Regions from separate parts of the Homo sapiens genome. Here all the other regions are linked to region 4. Evidence: promoter capture Hi-C in 16 types of primary human blood cells and fetal thymus (Javierre and others, 2016). All regions are on one chromosome and are shown on one strand. The core of a region is centred on a gene start or on the middle of the fragment in contact, and the rest is flanking DNA. Distances in the headings are between cores, read along the strand shown.

The links. Contacts are between HindIII fragments. The CHiCAGO score rates a contact against its expected background, and 5 or more counts as called.
Region 1: a contact is called between a fragment that was not itself captured here and the fragment with the promoter of COX7C in region 4, in 1 of 17 cell types (M2 macrophages). The highest score is 6.6, in M2 macrophages.
Region 2: a fragment that was not itself captured here is called in contact with the fragment with the promoter of COX7C in region 4 in 3 of 17 cell types (M2 macrophages, M0 macrophages and endothelial precursors); the score reaches 10.0 in M2 macrophages.
Region 3: a fragment that was not itself captured here is called in contact with the fragment with the promoter of COX7C in region 4 in 1 of 17 cell types (M0 macrophages); the score reaches 6.1 in M0 macrophages.
Region 5: a contact is called between a fragment that was not itself captured here and the fragment with the promoter of COX7C in region 4, in 1 of 17 cell types (total CD4 T cells). The highest score is 8.4, in total CD4 T cells.

What each region holds. Positions count from the first base shown.
Region 1 is chr5:83,699,630-83,702,945 of GRCh38, reverse strand. All of the region lies in intron 1 of HAPLN1 (hyaluronan and proteoglycan link protein 1), which reads left to right. Among named protein-coding and RNA genes, the nearest start is that of HAPLN1, 20 kb to the left of the region's middle. The HindIII fragment of the contact is 2,913 bases long and covers 242-3,154 here.
Region 2 is chr5:83,909,680-83,912,985 of GRCh38, reverse strand. No RefSeq gene overlaps it. Among named protein-coding and RNA genes, the nearest start is that of HAPLN1, 190 kb to the right of the region's middle. The HindIII fragment of the contact is 653 bases long and covers 1,250-1,902 here.
Region 3 is chr5:83,840,832-83,844,043 of GRCh38, reverse strand. No RefSeq gene overlaps it. Among named protein-coding and RNA genes, the nearest start is that of HAPLN1, 120 kb to the right of the region's middle. The HindIII fragment of the contact is 1,757 bases long and covers 505-2,261 here.
Region 4 is chr5:86,616,236-86,619,621 of GRCh38, reverse strand. COX7C (cytochrome c oxidase subunit 7C) reads right to left here and starts at 1,681. Exons shown (of 3, transcript NM_001867.3): 1 at 1,492-1,681; 2 at 126-269. The coding sequence starts at 1,566. The coding sequence ends at 153. RefSeq lists enhancers at 591-1,256, 1,554-1,643, 1,576-1,870, 1,257-1,922, 1,934-2,013. The HindIII fragment of the contact is 5,230 bases long and covers 1-3,386 here.
Region 5 is chr5:88,671,197-88,674,601 of GRCh38, reverse strand. The region is part of intron 1 of MIR9-2HG (MIR9-2 host gene); the gene reads left to right. Among named protein-coding and RNA genes, the nearest start is that of MEF2C-AS2, 3.3 kb to the left of the region's middle. RefSeq lists enhancers at 1,711-2,324, 2,325-2,937. The HindIII fragment of the contact is 7,016 bases long and covers 1-3,405 here.

The sequences.
Region 1 (3,316 bases), core at 449-2,948, 2.9 Mb after region 4:
GAGGTCAAGAGTTCAAGACCAGCCTGGCCAACATGGCAAAACCCCATCTCTACTAAAAATGCAAAAATTAGTCAAGTGTGGTAGTGCATGCCTGTAGTCCCAGCTATTTGGGAGGTTGAGGCGGAGTCTTCAGTGAGTTGAAATTGCTCCGCTGCACTCCAGCCTGGGCAACAGGGCGAGACTGTCTCAAAAAAAAAAGGAAAACTGTTGGGGGAAAAAAAAAGAGGGCATATTGAAAGCTTCCAGAAACAAAAGACACTAGACAGACTAACGAGTAAGAAAATCAGCTAGTTGGAAAATTTCCTTTTCTTTCCACTTTAAGAAATGCCAAAAATCAGTGGGTTGGCTTGACTATGTTCTGAGTAACCCTTATCTTCATGGCCTTATTTCTCTGAGAGACCAAACCCTTCAAGCCTAGAGGGATTATCAGTGTGCCTAGCTCCCTGAAGATGCTGTGCTGAGATAAATTTTAGTGGGGACTCAGTTCCTGCGTCTTTTGTAGATGCTCTACAGTCTTATTGCTAACAAGACAAAATTCTGGAAGCAGTTTGAGATGTTCATATCCATCTTTATCACTATCTAATGTGATTTTAAGTTATAAAAAGAAAAATGATGACTGAAAAGTTTATAATTTATACCGGATATTTGACAATGTTATATCTATTTTTTTAAGCCATGAAAGGCAGGCCAAAGTAAAAGCCAAATTTATCACAAAGATTTCAATCATTAAAATCTCTCAGGATATCTAACTTCTCTTCCCAAACATTTATGCAGTTCTACTCCTCTAATTCTGAGCTTACACACTTCTCTCAAGCAGGAATCCCTTATCATTTTATCCCTCCCACCTGAAACATGGCTCATGCTTGCATCATTCATGTAACACTTCCTCCCGGTAACCTTGCATTGTGCCACTAGCTGGAATTAGTCACTTCTTTCTCATTTCTCTCTTAATATTTTATTCGTACCTCGATTACTTCATATAGATTTTGTGTGTGTGTGTGTGTGTGTGTGTGTGTGTTTTTGTCGAAGTCTCGCTCTGTCGCCCAAGGTGGAGAGCAGTGGAGCGATCTCGGCTCACCGCAACCTCCGTCTCCCGGGTTCAAGCAATTCTCCTGCCTCAGCCTCCCAAGCAGCTGGGACCACTGCATCTGGCTAATTTTTTGTACTTTTAGTAGAGACGGGGTTTCACCGTGTTGGCCAGGCTGGTCCTGATCTCCTGACCTCAGGTGATCCACCCGCCTCGGCCTCCCAAAGTGCTGGGATTACTGGCGTGAGTCACCGTGCCCCGCCTCATATACTTTTTCATGTGTTGAATATAATCAACTGTTAAAATGTCTTTTATTTATTTATAGTGTCTTTGTTAATGAGTTGTTTTATCCATCTTTACATCCTTCAAAATTCTGAGCTGAAAGGTCAGATTTGAAACTGTAGAGATCAAAGGACCAAATGTGTTCCAAACACCCACCTACTCTCAAATCCCCTGTGTAATACAATAGGCAGATGTTTGTTGATCTGCCTAAACACCTGCGGTAGCAGAAAGCACTGTGTACTTCACAGGGCAATTCATTTCACTTTTAGATGACTTATTAGGAAATTCTTCCTGACAGTGTGCAAAATTTGATTTCTTGACTTCCACCCACTTGGTCCAGTTTTGCCTTGTGAAGCTACACGAAATAAGTTTAATAGCTTTTCCATATTTGGGACGTCTATTTCTAAATGCAAAGCATTATGTTTTTCCTGCAAAATTTTGTTATTTTTGTCACATCGTTCCAAATTTTGCAGATGGTTCTATTCTAGCTCTCAAGTCACATTGCAATTAGTCTAGTATTAGCTTTACAATCCATATACAGGCTTTGAGCCTTGGAACTATAAGACTAAAAGGAAAACTCTCATTTATATTAACATCACTTGAAAGTAAACCTCTTGACTGATAGTGTAACAGAATTACAGAAATTAATAAGATAATGTCCTTGTCACTGGGAAGGTCTCCTTTTATTAAACTAATAGCTAGTGCACCAGAGATAAGGAAAATAAATGTTAATGCAGAGTTGAAAAACTTTATTTTGAAAATAGAAGGCATTAATCATCTGCACTCTTTTACTGTGTCCTTATTTCATTACATATGGTTACTCTTTCAAATTAATTTTCAGAGAGCAGAATGAGAGGAGCCTTGTGCCATCGTTGACTATCTGCACCCTTAAACTGATAGATCATAGCAAAAATTGAAACCTAGCTTAGTCTAATAGTCATTATGAATGGTAGTGCATTAGCTGCCTAAAAGTAAAAAAAAAAAAAAAAAGTTTGAAAGGAGAGTTTGAGACATAAACATTTAAAGGAAAATACCAATTTACTGTAATTGGTATAAAACAAAATGTGACCTTAATTTATATTACTATGTATTCTTGGCAATTTTTTCTCCTCATTTGCAAAATTTTCTCCTTTCTCTATTCCTCCTTGCCTGCACCAGATGACAGTGTCCATGGTGAGGATGAGAGGTGAACAGTATGTGACTTCTGCATAATAATATTCTAAATTTTGAATCATGATGGATATTGCTATAAGCCAGTAACTGTCACCTCAAACTGATGGGTGGGAAAAGGGTCCTTCAGGCATGACACATTGGCAATAATTGGAAATCCATTCTTTTCTCTTTTAAAAAGAAAAGTCTTTATTTGTATGCAGTATCAGAGTAGATACATGTAATTTTTGTTGTGGTGGTGGTGGTGGTTGTCTTTTTTTTTTTTTTTTTTTTGAGATGGAGTCTCACTCTGTCACCCAGGCTACAGTGCAGTGGCGCAATCTCAGCTCACTGTAACCTCCGCCTCCTGGGTTAAAGTGATTCTCCTGCCTCAGCCTCCCAAGTAACTGGGACTACAGGCATGAGCCACCATGCCCAGCTAATTTTTGTATTTTTAGTAGAGACGGGTTTTCACCATGTTGGCCAGGATGGTCTCCATCTCTTGACCTCATGATCCAACCACCTTGGCCTCCCACAGTGCTGAGATTACAGGTGTGAAGGTGTAGTTTTTAAATAAAACAATTGTTTCAGTTTACCAGCAGGAAGCATTTTGGTACTCTGCTTTTAATGTTAAAATAGAAGTGTTGTTTGCTTCATGCTCCTATTGTTATCAATAGTATAATTGGTTGTTAAGCTTATTATCAGAAACTATGGAACATGATTGATTTAATATTCAGTATATCAGAAATCAGGTATTTATTTGTTTACACATTTCATTTATGTAGCAGAATGTTCCCGTGAATCACAAATCTGAATTTTTGGCATATTGGTGAGCAGGACAGGAAAATTAGATCTGAA
Region 2 (3,306 bases), core at 327-2,826, 2.7 Mb after region 4:
TGCACAACATGTAACCAGCCATGAGTTCTACGTTGGCCAAAAACCTGCCAGTGAAGATGGTCAGCAGCATATAACTGTGGACATACCTGGGTGAAATCCTTCCTTCACTGTTTGCCAGCCATGTGACTTTGAAAAATTCACTGAGCCTGTCTGAGTTTGGTTCCCCTTATCTGCAAAATGGAGGTAATAATTGCAACTTCATGGCATTGTTTTGCTGAGCAAACAAGATGCCATATGTAATGCACCTAGCACAGGGCTGGCACCAAAGCACCCAGCATATACCAGCTAATGCAATTTAGACAATGATTCTCAACCTTGCTGGCATGTACACATCACCTAAGAGGTTTTTAAAATCCCAAGGTCCTGGCTACATGCTAGCCCAAGTAAGTTAGAATCTCTGAGGATGAGATCCAGGCATCAATATTTTAAACTTCCCCAGGTTATTCCATGTGCAGCTAATATTAAGGAAAATTGAATAAGCAGCAAACAAATTTGAAAGGCTGCCCAACTCAGCAGCTGAAAAGCCATAATGATTACCTTGTATTTCCTTTGAAAGAGGCACAACTAAAACAATCATCATTGGTATCATCAAAGAGTATATTTTAAGCACCCACTGAGTGCAAGATAATAAAGTCCCTTTTCTGGAAGATCTTTGAAACACCAGGAAGCCTACTACACGGATATCCTCTTTGCTTAAGCTTCATGGGTATACCTTTTTCTTGTTTATAGTTTCAAGTTGTTAGATGACTTCTTGTCACATTTGTGTTGTCGATGGTGAGTTGCCAGCAGAGCGTCATCTCAGGAGAAATCACTGAATACAGCTTTGCTTGATGCAGGTAGCTAAAGGAAAGAGGGAAACATTCTGAATAATTAGAAGGAAAAAGGCAAGAACGGGATTCCCTAAGGAAAGAGCTCCTGTCAGAGCCAATGGAAGCAGATGCTCCAACAAAACGAGGCTCAAGAGGACAAAGCAGGAACCTTTTCCTGTGTGACAAGGAAAGGGTCAAGAGGACCAATTTCATTTAGAATAATTAACACCCAATAATTGATCAAAGGTATTATTACAATTTCACCTGTCCCTAAATCCTGAGAAGCTTAAGACATGGCCTGTGATTAATCAGCATGACAATCATAATTATGGATAAATGGAAATTAAGACGTTTTATTTCTGTCAGTTTTATTGAAATCTTGTCCCTGCTTTGCCTATGTGATGCCAACTCAATCCTCTGTAAACAGGGAACTGAAAGCTTGTTTCATTTTTCAAATCCCTTTACACCATCAGAGTCTGAATCAAAAGGCAACCTGCCATTATGTTTAAGTTACAGTGATAATAATTACAGTAGTCTAGAATTCCCCACCAACTATTTTATCTTAAGAAACACAGGTTTATACTCTTGCTGTCTGCCTAGCTGTCAATCCATATACAGGAGACACTAAAAGGATAAATTAACTTGGTGACTCCTTCAAAATGGTATTGATTCAAAGATATATCGGTTGACAACCTACCCTCAGAGAAGAAAGGACCAGCTGCCATTCACAGAGTAAATAAATACTTTCTAGGTTGGGCACTGATGTTTCCTGAGACCTCTAAGAACCCAGCTTCTGACAATGCTGTTACCACATTTAAGTGTCCTATAATTATGAAATTATTATTTTAGTTTTGTTTTGTTTCATGAATTTTACTTGTTTTCACATATAAGCAAATGTTTTTCTCCATTTCTGGAAGAAAATAACATTTTACAGCATGAGAGAAACCCTCATATAAAGTACAATAGCTTTTGATTTGGGCCACTGTTTGTAAGGACAAATTAAAGTATAACAACAGGAATTTTGGAATAGAGGAATAATTTGAATCAATAACAAAGAAACAGGAGATGGAGTGAGGGAAGAAGGGGGAAAGCTTTAGTGCCCTGATTTGCTCACATTTCATAAGAAAGAATTACTTAAAACTGATAAATCAAGTAACTGCAACACATTTTTTAAACTTTTATTTTAGTTTCCAGGGTACATGTGCAGGTTTGCTATATAGGTAAACTGAGGGTCATGGGTGATTGGCATACATATGATCTTAAAGTCACAATTGCAGGCTTTGATTTCTGAAATGTAAAAAAAAGTTTCAATTCACTTTAAGTTAATTTCTTCTTGGATGTTTCTCTTCTTGGAGATATATATATATATATATATATACACACACACACACATACACATACACTATAATGTAATTTACTGATATTAATGTAGGTTATATATTATATAAAAAAGATTATATATGTTATATATAAACATATATTATTATGTATATGTAATTATATATATTCATATTTATAGATGCATACATATATACACACATATTCCTATATACACACATCATCTATGCAATCACATATGTGAAAAAAAAGTCAGCTATTTATTTTGAAGGCCCATTCTAAAGCTTAATCTGCTCTCCTGGTGCATGGAAACTCCATAAATATTATTCTTCCACTTTTCTAAATTTATTTGTTTATCACGTTTTGCTTGTTGTTATTAACCCTGTTTCCAAAATAAAACCAGTTATATATAGCCAACTAAAATTTTAGAATGTCAATTCTATTTCTATATTCAGTGATTGTTTTTGTATCAAATAATTAACATATATACTGAGAAAACATAAGATTGATGTTAAAAACAAAACAGAAACAAGTGCCTTACTAACAATGCAGCAGCATTTCTTCTACTCCTGTTGTCTTGTGATTTGTACTTAATTATTTCAACAAACTAGAATATTGTTATCCTTAAGATGACAATACATAAAGGAAAATATCTCTAGGAAACATGAAAAGGTCAAAATAAAGAGATAATTAACTACAAAATAAAATGGCATTTATCCTATAGTTATAGCAGAATAAATATATGTACTTACTAGAAATATCAAGAATGACCTTTTTATCAGTAGAAAGTTTTAAAAGTAGTTGCTGTATTTCATGGATAAAACAACCATCTCTTGAAATAAATGGTCTGAGATAAATAACTGAATAAGATATATTAAAAGACAAAGGATAGCGTTTAAAATTAGTATAATAATGATTATCTGATTCTATTGCTAAGTAGTTAGAGCAATTGAATTAGAAAATGCTCAAATGTTATTTTGAAGTGATATCTGCAAGCTCCAGTAGGTCAAGTACGCCATTCTTTGAGATAAAAATCATCACTAATTTGCCAACTTCCTGCACCTTAAATTGACATCAGGGATTTGGGGCCAGCCCAGAGGTGATATTTTAAAATATTTGCCAATTTATTACATAGAGATCCTCATCTACGTGTCTTTTT
Region 3 (3,212 bases), core at 134-2,633, 2.8 Mb after region 4:
GTTCCAGCTTTATGTATCCTTTATACAGGATAGCTTTGTCCTTTTTTTGCTCTGTTCAGACGTCCTCCAAACGACGGGTGTTTCAACAGTAACCTGGATACATTTTAAATTTAGGAGGCCAAAGTGGGTGGATCACCTGAGGTCAGGAGTTTGAGACCAGCCTGGCCAACATGGTGAAACGCTGTTTCTACTAAAAATACAGAAATTAGACGGGCATGGTGGTGCATGCCTATAATCCCAGCTCCTCAAAAGGCTGAGGCAGGAGAATGGCTTGAACCCGGGAGGCGGAGGTTGCAGTGAGCCAAGATCACGCCACTGCATCCAGCCTGGGCAACAGAGCAAGACTCCATCTCAAAAAAATAAAAAATAAATAAATAAATAAATAAAATTTTTGTGTCAGGCAGAGTTAGTGATTTAGGCAGTGGTTCTGCCTGAGGCTTAATCTGTCCCAACACCTGCTACTCTAAGCTGCTCTCTACTAGATCCATTACCTAACTCAAAGCTTCCAGGGAACCTGATTGCCTGAGAAGCCCTATTTACAATACGTTATTGAAATGTACCTTGACTAAGAGTGCCTGGGGGCTTGGTCCTATATAGGCCTCATATGCACCATGACATCTCAGACACACTGAAATCAGATGACTTCTAAATGAAAAGAAAAAACAGGAATAATGTCATAGGTCCACCTTGACAAATGCTGCTATAAGATAAGCATTCACCTTCTCATTCAATGGGTATAATTCTAAGGGTGACTAAAATTACAAGCACACTTTGGAGTTATTGCAGGTCCATTCCAGACCCCTGCAATAAAACAAATATCACAATAAAGTGAGTCACACCATTTTTTTGGTGTCCCAGTGCATATAAAAGTCGTGTTTAAAATATACTGCAGTCTATTAAGTGTTTAATGGTATTATATCTAAAAAAAATGCGTATCTTAATTAAAAATACTTTATTGCTAAAAAATGCTATCATCTGTACCTTCAGTGAGTGATATTTTTTTTGCTGGTGGAGGGTCTTGCCTCATTGTTGATGGCAGCTGACTTATCAGGGTGATGACTGGTGAAGATTGGGGTGGCTGTAACAATTTCTTTCTTATTTGAAGAGACATAGTCTCTCTCTGTGGCCCAGGCTGGAGTGTAGTGGCATGATTATAGCTCACTGCAGTGTCAAACTCCTGGGCTCAAGGAATCCTCCTGCCTCAGCATCCCAAGTAGCTACAGTACAAACACCACCATGCCTAGCTAATTGTTCTTATTTTTTAATTTTTTTGTAGCACCTGGGTCTCACTATTTTGTCCAGACCAATCTTGAACTCCTGGCCTCAAGTGATCCTCCCCTGCCTTCGCTTCCCAAAGAGCTGGGATTACAGGCATGAGCCAACATGCTCAGCCTCAATTTCTTAAAATAAGGTCACAGTGAAGTTTGCCACATTGATTAACTCTTCCTTTCTTGAACTTTTTCTCTGTAGCATGTGATGCCATTTGATAGTATTTTACCCACAGTAAAATTTCTTTCAGTATTAAAGTCGATCCTTTTAAACCCTCTCACTGCTTTGTCAACTAAGTTTGTGGAATATTCTAAATCCTTTATCGCCATTTCAACAATGCTCACAGCAGCTTCACTAGGAGAAGTTTCCATCACAAGAAACCACTCTCTTTGCTATTTGCTAAGAAGCAACTCCTCATCCATTCAAGTTTTATCAGGAGATCGCAACAATCCAGTCACATTTTTAAGCTCCACTTCTAATTCTAGTTTTCTTGTTATTTCCACCACATCTGCAGTGACTTCCTCTACTAAAGTTTTGAATCCCTCAAAGTCATCCACGAGGGTTGGAATCAGTTTCTTCCAAAATTCTGTTAATGTTGATATTTTGACCTCTTCCCATGAATCACAAATGTCCTTAGTAGCATCTACAATGGTGAATCCTTTCCAGAAGATTTTCAATTAACTTTGCCCAGATCCACAGAGGAATCACTACCTATGGCAGCTATAGCTTTACAAAATGTATTTCTTAAATAATAAGACTTAAAAGTTGAAATGGCTTCTTGATCCATGGGCTATAGAATGGATGTTCTGTTAGCAGGTATAAAAACATTAATGTCCTTGTACATCTCCATTGGAGCTCTTGGGTGACCAGATGCGCTGTCAATGAGCAGTAATATTTTGAAATGATTTTTTTTTTCTCAGCAGTAGCTCTCAACAGTAGGTTTAATATAATCAGTAACCCAAGCTGTAAACAGATGTGCTCTCATCCAAGCTTTGTTGTTCCACTTATAGAGCAAAGACAGAATAAATTTAGCATAATTCTCAAGGGACATAGGGTTTTTGGAAAGGTAAATGAGCATTGGCTTCCACTTGTAAGTCACCAGCTGCATGAGCACCTAAAAAAAAGATTCATCTTGTCCTTTGACGCTTTAAAGCCAAGTGTTGACTTCACCTCTGTAGACATGAAAGTTGGCGGGCGCCTGTAGTCCCAGCTACTCGGGGGGCTGAGACAGGAGAATGGCGTGAACCCAGGAGGCGGAGCTTGCAGTGAGCTGATATTGCGCCACTGCACTTCAGCCTGGGCGACAGAGCAAGACTCTGTCTCAAAAAAAAAAAAGAAAGAAAGAAAGTTCTAGATAGCATTTTCTTCCAATAGAAGTCAGTTTTATCTCCATTGAAAATCTGTTGTTTAGTGTAGCTGCCTTATCAATGATATTAGCTGTATCTTCTGGATCACTCGCTGCGTCTTCTCCATCAGCACTTGCTGCTTCACCTTGCACTGGTATGTTATGGAATAGCTTCTTTCTTTAAACCTCATGACCAACCTCTTCTAGCTGCCAACTTTTCTTCTTTGGTGTCCTCATCTCTCTCAGCCTTCATAGAACTGAAGAGAGTTAGGACCTTGCTCTGGATTAGGCTTTGGCTTCAGGGAATGTTCTGGCTGGTTTTATCTATCCAGACCACTCAGACTTTCTCCATATTGGCAAGAAGTTTCTTTTGCTTTCTTGTCATTTGTGTGTTCACTGGAGTAGCACTTTTAATTTTCTTCAGAAACTTCTCCTTTGCATTCACAACTTGATTAACTGCTTGGCACAGAGGCCTAGCTTTCAGCCTATCTTGGCTTTTGACATTCCTTCCTCACTAAGCTCAATCATTTTTAGTGCTTGATTTAAAGTGACAGACGTGCAAAGTGGCCTTTCACTTGAACACTTAGGGGCTATTGTA
Region 4 (3,386 bases), core at 432-2,931:
ATCTACACATAACCTCAGGAATCAGCCCTACACAACAATGTATTTGTGTGTGTGTTCTGGGTGATGGGGAAGAGGCTACTTAATAAAAAGGCCTGCTTTAACATGATTAGAAATCCACTAACTACCTGTTAAATGGAGGAACTGAAACATCCTTATGTTTTAAGCAGTTGGTGTCTTACTACAAGGAAGGGTGTAGCAAATGCAGATCCAAAGTACAAACACATCTTAGCTAGTAACGACCACTTGTTTTCCACTGAAAATGGCAAATTCTGTTGGAAAAAAAGAGAAAAAGTAATCGAAATTGAATCTCAAATCATCTGCTTAATAATCAAAATACAAGTATACAGGAAATGCTAGTTATATTTTACATCATCAGGTTAACATATGCCATAAATCATAACATCGTTTTAAACATTTATCTTTCAAATCCTATGACCTTCATCACAAAACACTACATGGCAAGAAATAATCTGGCTTTACTAAGCACTAGGCAATGAATGGTCTTGAGGACTCAAACGTCAAATAGTGAGAAGTTTCTTACTTTAGAAAATCGAAAAAACTACTGTCCTAAGTAGTCACCTTAGAAGATACATGGCAATGTTAAGTGCAATACAGCTCTTTTTTTTTCTTTTTTTTTTTTTTTGAGACGGAGTCCCGCTCTGTCCAGGCTGGAGTGCAGTGGCCCGATCTCGGCTCACTGCAACCTCCACCTCCCGGGTTCAAGCGATTCTCCTGCCTCAGCCTCCCGAGTAGCTGGGATTAGAGGCACACACCACCACGTCCGGCTAATTTTTTTGTACTTTTTAGTAGAGACAGGGTTTCGCCATGTTGGCCAGGCTGGTCTGGAACTCCTGACCTCAGGTGATCCGAACGCCTTAGCCTCCCGATTACAGGCGTGCGCCACCGCACCTGGCCCACAGTTTTTTTTGTTTGTTTGTTTTTCATTACCAAGCACCTTCTCTGGCCTTTATGACTAGGCCTCGTGTGACCCTCCGAGATTGTTACTGCTATGTGGTTTAAGTTATTTACACCTGAGGCCAAACCCAGCCTTAACTGAGGTGAAGGGTTAGTACTTCTAACTTAGGCAGCTAGTTTAAAAAGCCTGTTCCATAACCAGAGGCCCTGATTTCCTCATGATTTTCCAATGACCTTCATTTCGGGTCCGATGACCTCCAGCTCGGATTTAACCAACACACCTACAGCCGTGGCCTCCCGGAGCCATCTCAGGGCTTTCTGCGGGGCGGGGGAGGGGGCGTCAGGTGGCTGATGGAGGCAGGGCTTCCGGATCTACCTGCCCATTCCTTTAGCGGCTACGCGCTAGGATGCCCAGCTTCCTCACTGGTCCTTGGGCTAAGTGGAATGCTAGTCTGCGTCTCAGCCTGGTTTCTGGCTATCATCTCCCACGCCACAGCCCGGAGGCGGCCTTGCAGGTGCGCGAGTCACAGCCAAGCGCCCCCTCCCCCAACGAAGCCGTGCCCCTTACACACTAACCTTCCCAGGGCCCTCCTCATAGTGGCTCCTACGGACCACAGAGGTTGTGAACCTCCGGATGCTCTGGCCCAACATACCGCTGCTGGAAGCTCTGCGAAAGGCGCAGAGAATGAGGACAGATGAAATGGCGGCACCTCACCAAGACCTTTTTTTTCACGACCTTGTTCCCCGGTGCGCAAGGACTGAAAAGAAAGATGGGAAATGGGGCGGAGCCTTGAGGAAACGCGACAAAGCGGAAATCGCCCTGGATTGTGGGAATTGTAGTTCAGACCATTGCGGAGCCTTATCAGCCCCCGAAGGATTGTGGGAAATGTAGTTTCGCGCCAGGCTTAGGTCTAGGATTCCTGGGGCCTGTTACCGGAAACGATTTTATTGAATCAAGTGAAGCAGTTTCACCCCGTATACTCTAGTCTGTTGAAAAGGACAATAAACCCATCCCTTTTCTCTTCTTTCTTTCTTTTTTAAAAATAAAGTATATGCTAGGTGTCAATGATTTCGAGGACTTTTGCCAATGCTGAGAGATATGTGCTAATGATCCTAGCTGAAGAAACAAAGCATAAACACAAGTAATCAAACAACGTGCAGCACAAAGGACTTCAGAGAGAAAACTGAAATGCTAAGGGAATGATCACTAAAGATAATGGGAATCGAATAAAAAAGAAGGAAGAACAAAGGGCAGGGAAAACTCAAGTCTGGTATGAGTACAGCATGTGTGAGGAGTAGAAGGGAAAAGTGGCCTCTGACACCTGGAGCTAGCCTGGACTAGGAACTGGTGTCCGCCTGATGAACGTACACAATTTCAGCAAGCATTAGCATCCAACAAGACCACTCTGACAGTGTTCATTAAGAAAAGAATATGATCACTGTGTAATCACATCTGAACACAGATAAAACATTGTCCAAGCCACGAAAATGACCGGACATCACCCTATCTGGTTTAATTTGATGACTTCTGCTTCTTTACCAATTACAATCTTAGCCTTGATCTAGCCTTTCTTCCTCCTAAGATTTGGTAAGGTAGCCAATATTAGGAGAAAAAAATCCCAAATCCAATAAGCATTTTCTAATATTTTACAGAGAACCCTTACTGCAATGAATAATAAACCCCGTTTGTCAATTACATGTGTGCTTCTGGTGGTCTTTGACCAGAAGGTATTGAGAAGAAACCAGTGATAAATGAACCTGGGAAAGTGGTGTTAGGTTAGATTGTGAAAGGCCCTGGTAACCTAAATGTTATGTTATTCATCTGTGGGGGAGTGTATATTGCCTCACGTGTCTCATTTATATAGCATTAGGAAACAATTCCAATAAGACCTAAGGTTTGCTTTGAAAAGGGCATAACATATATGCTCTTTTCGTCTTTTTTTTTTTTTTTTTTTTCAGTTTTTGGAAGAGAACAACCATGCCCCTCCCCCCCAAAAAAACACTTAAAAAAAACACTTAAATTCATATTTTGTTTCAACAAGTAGCTTCTTTTTGAGTAGGGGTTCATGAAATGCATCATAACTGGTGTCCTCTACCACCTAATTTATAGAAGTTATGTGACATTCCATTTTTTTTTAACATTCCGTTCACTGCCTTTACATATTAAAGAATTCTGATTTAACTATAATTGAGAAACTTTTTCACACTTAATATTTCTAGATTACACTTTTCAATCTAGTGTGAGTAATGTTATCTGTGGATTTGGTTCATTGTTGCTTCTAATTCACATTAATTGAGCCTCCATTGGGTATCTGGCTTTGAGTTAACTCTTTAGGGACCTGCAGGGCAGAGATTCCAGAATATGGTTTCAGAACTGTCTGCCTTCTCATGGGCTTTGTGGTAAGTTAAATACAAAAAAAAAAAATATGTTTGGCCGGGCGCGGTGGCTCACGCCTGTAATCCCAGCACTT
Region 5 (3,405 bases), core at 755-3,254, 2.1 Mb before region 4:
GCTGTCTGTCCTCCGGCTGCACTTGGCGGGAAAGCTAGGGGCCGCCGGCGGGGCTGAGCGCCAGCGGCTGTCATTACCGCCTCCCTGCTCCCCGCGGGCTGCATTTACATACGGGCCACTCGTCTGAATTTTTACGGCACTCTTCCCCCTCCCGTACCCGGTCGCACGCGCGCAGGCTCGGAACTACCACCCCGGCACGCAGACACCCGCGCCCAGAATGCGGCCAGCCCCAGGCGCGCAAACAGGCCCACAGGGGCCGACGGCACTCGGCGGGACGGATTCCTGCACCGCCTCCCCGCACCCCCGTGCCCACACCCCTGACAGCCTCTCCGCTTGTGTTGCAGGAAGCCCACCTTCCCCTCGAAGCCCCCACCCTTCTCTGTCTGCATACTTCCACCCCCACCCTCCCACATCTCTCCGTCTCTCTTTCCGTGGAAGGCAGACGCGCGCGCGCGCGCGCACACACACACACACACACACACACACACACACCCGCTTTTTCTTCCTCCTCAAATAGATGACCCCTATGGCGCGTCCCTGGTACATTTAGAATACCTCTAGAGTTTAGAGAATAAAATTCTTTAGAATGCATTGCTTGTCTTTAGCTAAACACATTTAACAACCACGACACAAACGGGGAGGAGTGAAGAAGGGGGACTTGAACCAAAAGACCTTTAAAAAAAAAAAAGTCTGCGAGTCAAAAGGTCATTCTCCAAGTTTGTAAATAAAATTGCAAAGGGAGTCCTTAAGAAAGGAGAGGAAAGAAGGGGAAGAAGGTTAGGAAGACTCACAAGTTACATAAAACAGTGCATTGGAAAAACGACAGGGAGATTCTGTAATAAAAAAAAAAGAAGAATCTTAAGAAACCAAGAGAGAGAAAAAAAAACTGGAGGAAAAAAGAAAAAGAGAAGAAAAGGATTTTAAAAAAAAGAAAAAAGCAAAAGAAGTTTCCAAAGAAATGTGTGCTTTGCATCCTACAATAGGAAAATGTAGCCATTGCCTTCCTTCAGACGAGACATTTCTAATTTGTTCCGTCTGTCAGGAGGGGACTATGAGAGGTTTGGGTGCAAATTCATTATCTCTGGCAACGCAGAACGTAGTGTGGGGACTGAAAAAGACCGTGGCAATGGATGAACAATAGGGCTTCAGTTCATCAGTAACAAAAGCAGTGGGGAAATTGGTTGAGTTTCAGAGCACGTCCTCCTCGGCAGAGGGGGCTGGACTAGACCTTGGACAGCCCCCCCAAAAACTTGCCAAGCCTCGCACACACCACTTCACTCTCCACTCCGAGGCTCAGGGAGCAAGTGCCTGGCATGGGGGGTAAAAGTTGGCTTTTTTTTTACTCCTTGGTCTTTTGCGCCCTTCTCCCTCTCCCCAGAAGGGAAGACCCATTTAAACTATTTTAGACGCAATCAACCAAGAATCACCATGTGGAATTGAGCGGCAGTTTTAAATGTGTTGAGCAGGGGAGAGGAATGATGAGAAAAACATTTTTTTTTTTTTTTTTGGAGACGCCGAAAGAAGCCTGTTTGTGTGCTGCGGCCGTGCTGTGACTTTGGATCTTGTCTTTCAGCCGGCGCCTCGGTTCCTGCCCAGCTGGATTTGGGGGGCAGCATTGCCTGGCGCAGGGAGATCAAGTGAGTATCGTGGCGGCCCTCAGGCTGCAGCTCGCCCGCGGCGCGAGGCCAGCAGTGCCCGCCGCGGCCCCGCGCCCGCACTCCTCACCTCGCCCGCTAGCCGGTGCCCGCAGAGTCCCGCTGCGGGCCGCTCCGAGGGCCAGTCCGGGGCTTTGCTTCAGCTAATTGATTGTGTGCCTCGGATGTTAAACCTGTTGATCTCGTGAGTTTTCTTAGCCAGTACTGTTAATTATCCAGCGGCTTGACCCCCAATCGCAGAGAGATGCCAGGAAATCTTCGCGTTGGAAAAGGGAATTTTTGTATGTAATTTTGTGGTGGTGGTGGTGGTGGTGTGTTTGGGGGGGCTTTTCCCTTTTAAACCTAGAGCAAAATGCACTTGTATTTTGCACTTCTGTATTCGAATTCGCATTTTGAAGAATTCGCCTCCCTTTAACCGCCCCAAAGTTGCAATTACCTGGCAAGGAAGCGAGGGTCTGATTAGATTTTGGTGGAAAACTTAGTACAGTAGCTAAGTAGATCTGGTGGCTTTCCACTTCCCTTTTCTCTTTGCCTTTTGAATTTTGGGAGGTGAGAGGCCGCTTTACAGGGTTATCCCAAGTTCAGATTCATCAAGATGCAACCATCATGGTTAGTTATTGGTACTTGGAGCGGTTCAGCTTAAGACGCTTCTGGTATCCAAACGGAGCTAGGTCTTTGCGGTTTGCTTAGAGTCTAGACCCGGCTGAGGAAGGCAAGAACTCCTTTCTGTGGCCTGGAATTATCTGCAGGAACCCAGGGTGATGGGAACTCGGGCAATGTATTTGCATTAGTGTCTGCGGCGTTTTATCTTGCAAATGTACCCGCGGTGCTTGAATGGGGGACTGTCTTGAGGGGTCAGGAGAGCAGTGGAATTGATCAGAAGTTAGACCGGAGGCTCTGTCAAGTCACGGCCACGGCCGGGGGCCCCTTTGGAGCTGTGGCTGCCTTGGGCCCAGCACCGCAGAGTCGGGTTCCGTTTCCTCCCTTTCTTGGTGTCCACCTCTGTCTACCACCCTCCTTTCTCCACCTTGGCACCGGTAATTAGGGCGCTGTCTCAGGAAGCGAGCTCCCACAGTCAGCATAATTAAACCAGGGCAATACTTTCATTTTGCAAAACCAATAGCCCCACCCCTCCAGTCCAAAATAACAATAAGCATTAAAAAATCATAAAAGAAAAACAACCTATTTTGGGGAGTATTGAATTCCTGAATGTTGGATCGAGAGGGAATGGGGGAAGGGAAATTTTCAAAAATCCACCACTTTACAGCAATCAGGTTTTACATTATTCATTGATTTACTGGAGGAAAGAGCCAATCAGGAGCCATAGATATGAATGCACATCTCACGGTGCTGTGGCCTTACAGTAAACTATTTGCATCTTTCTAATGGAGTAGATATTTATCCAGGGATTGCCATTGTTCGAAAGGCCTGGAAATTCAGTTCCTTAAACATTTAGAAAATAAGACTTTGTTCCAGACTTAAAATCCTTACATGGAAGGACTCTCCTCTTTTGTATGGCAGGTTACAAGGTTCAAGTCCCTAATGTTTTTTTAAGAGTCCCTCTTCCTTCCAAGCTAAAAATAAAAGAAAAGAAGAAAGAAAAATTAATTTCTCAAACCCCTCCAGATTCTGCATATTTTGCATTCACATTATCATGCATGTCTCCATTTGAATGCAAATTAGCATATTTAACCCCGTGGGTGCTGAGACCTAGGATACATTGTACTGGGGTTTTATGGAATCTCTGGCA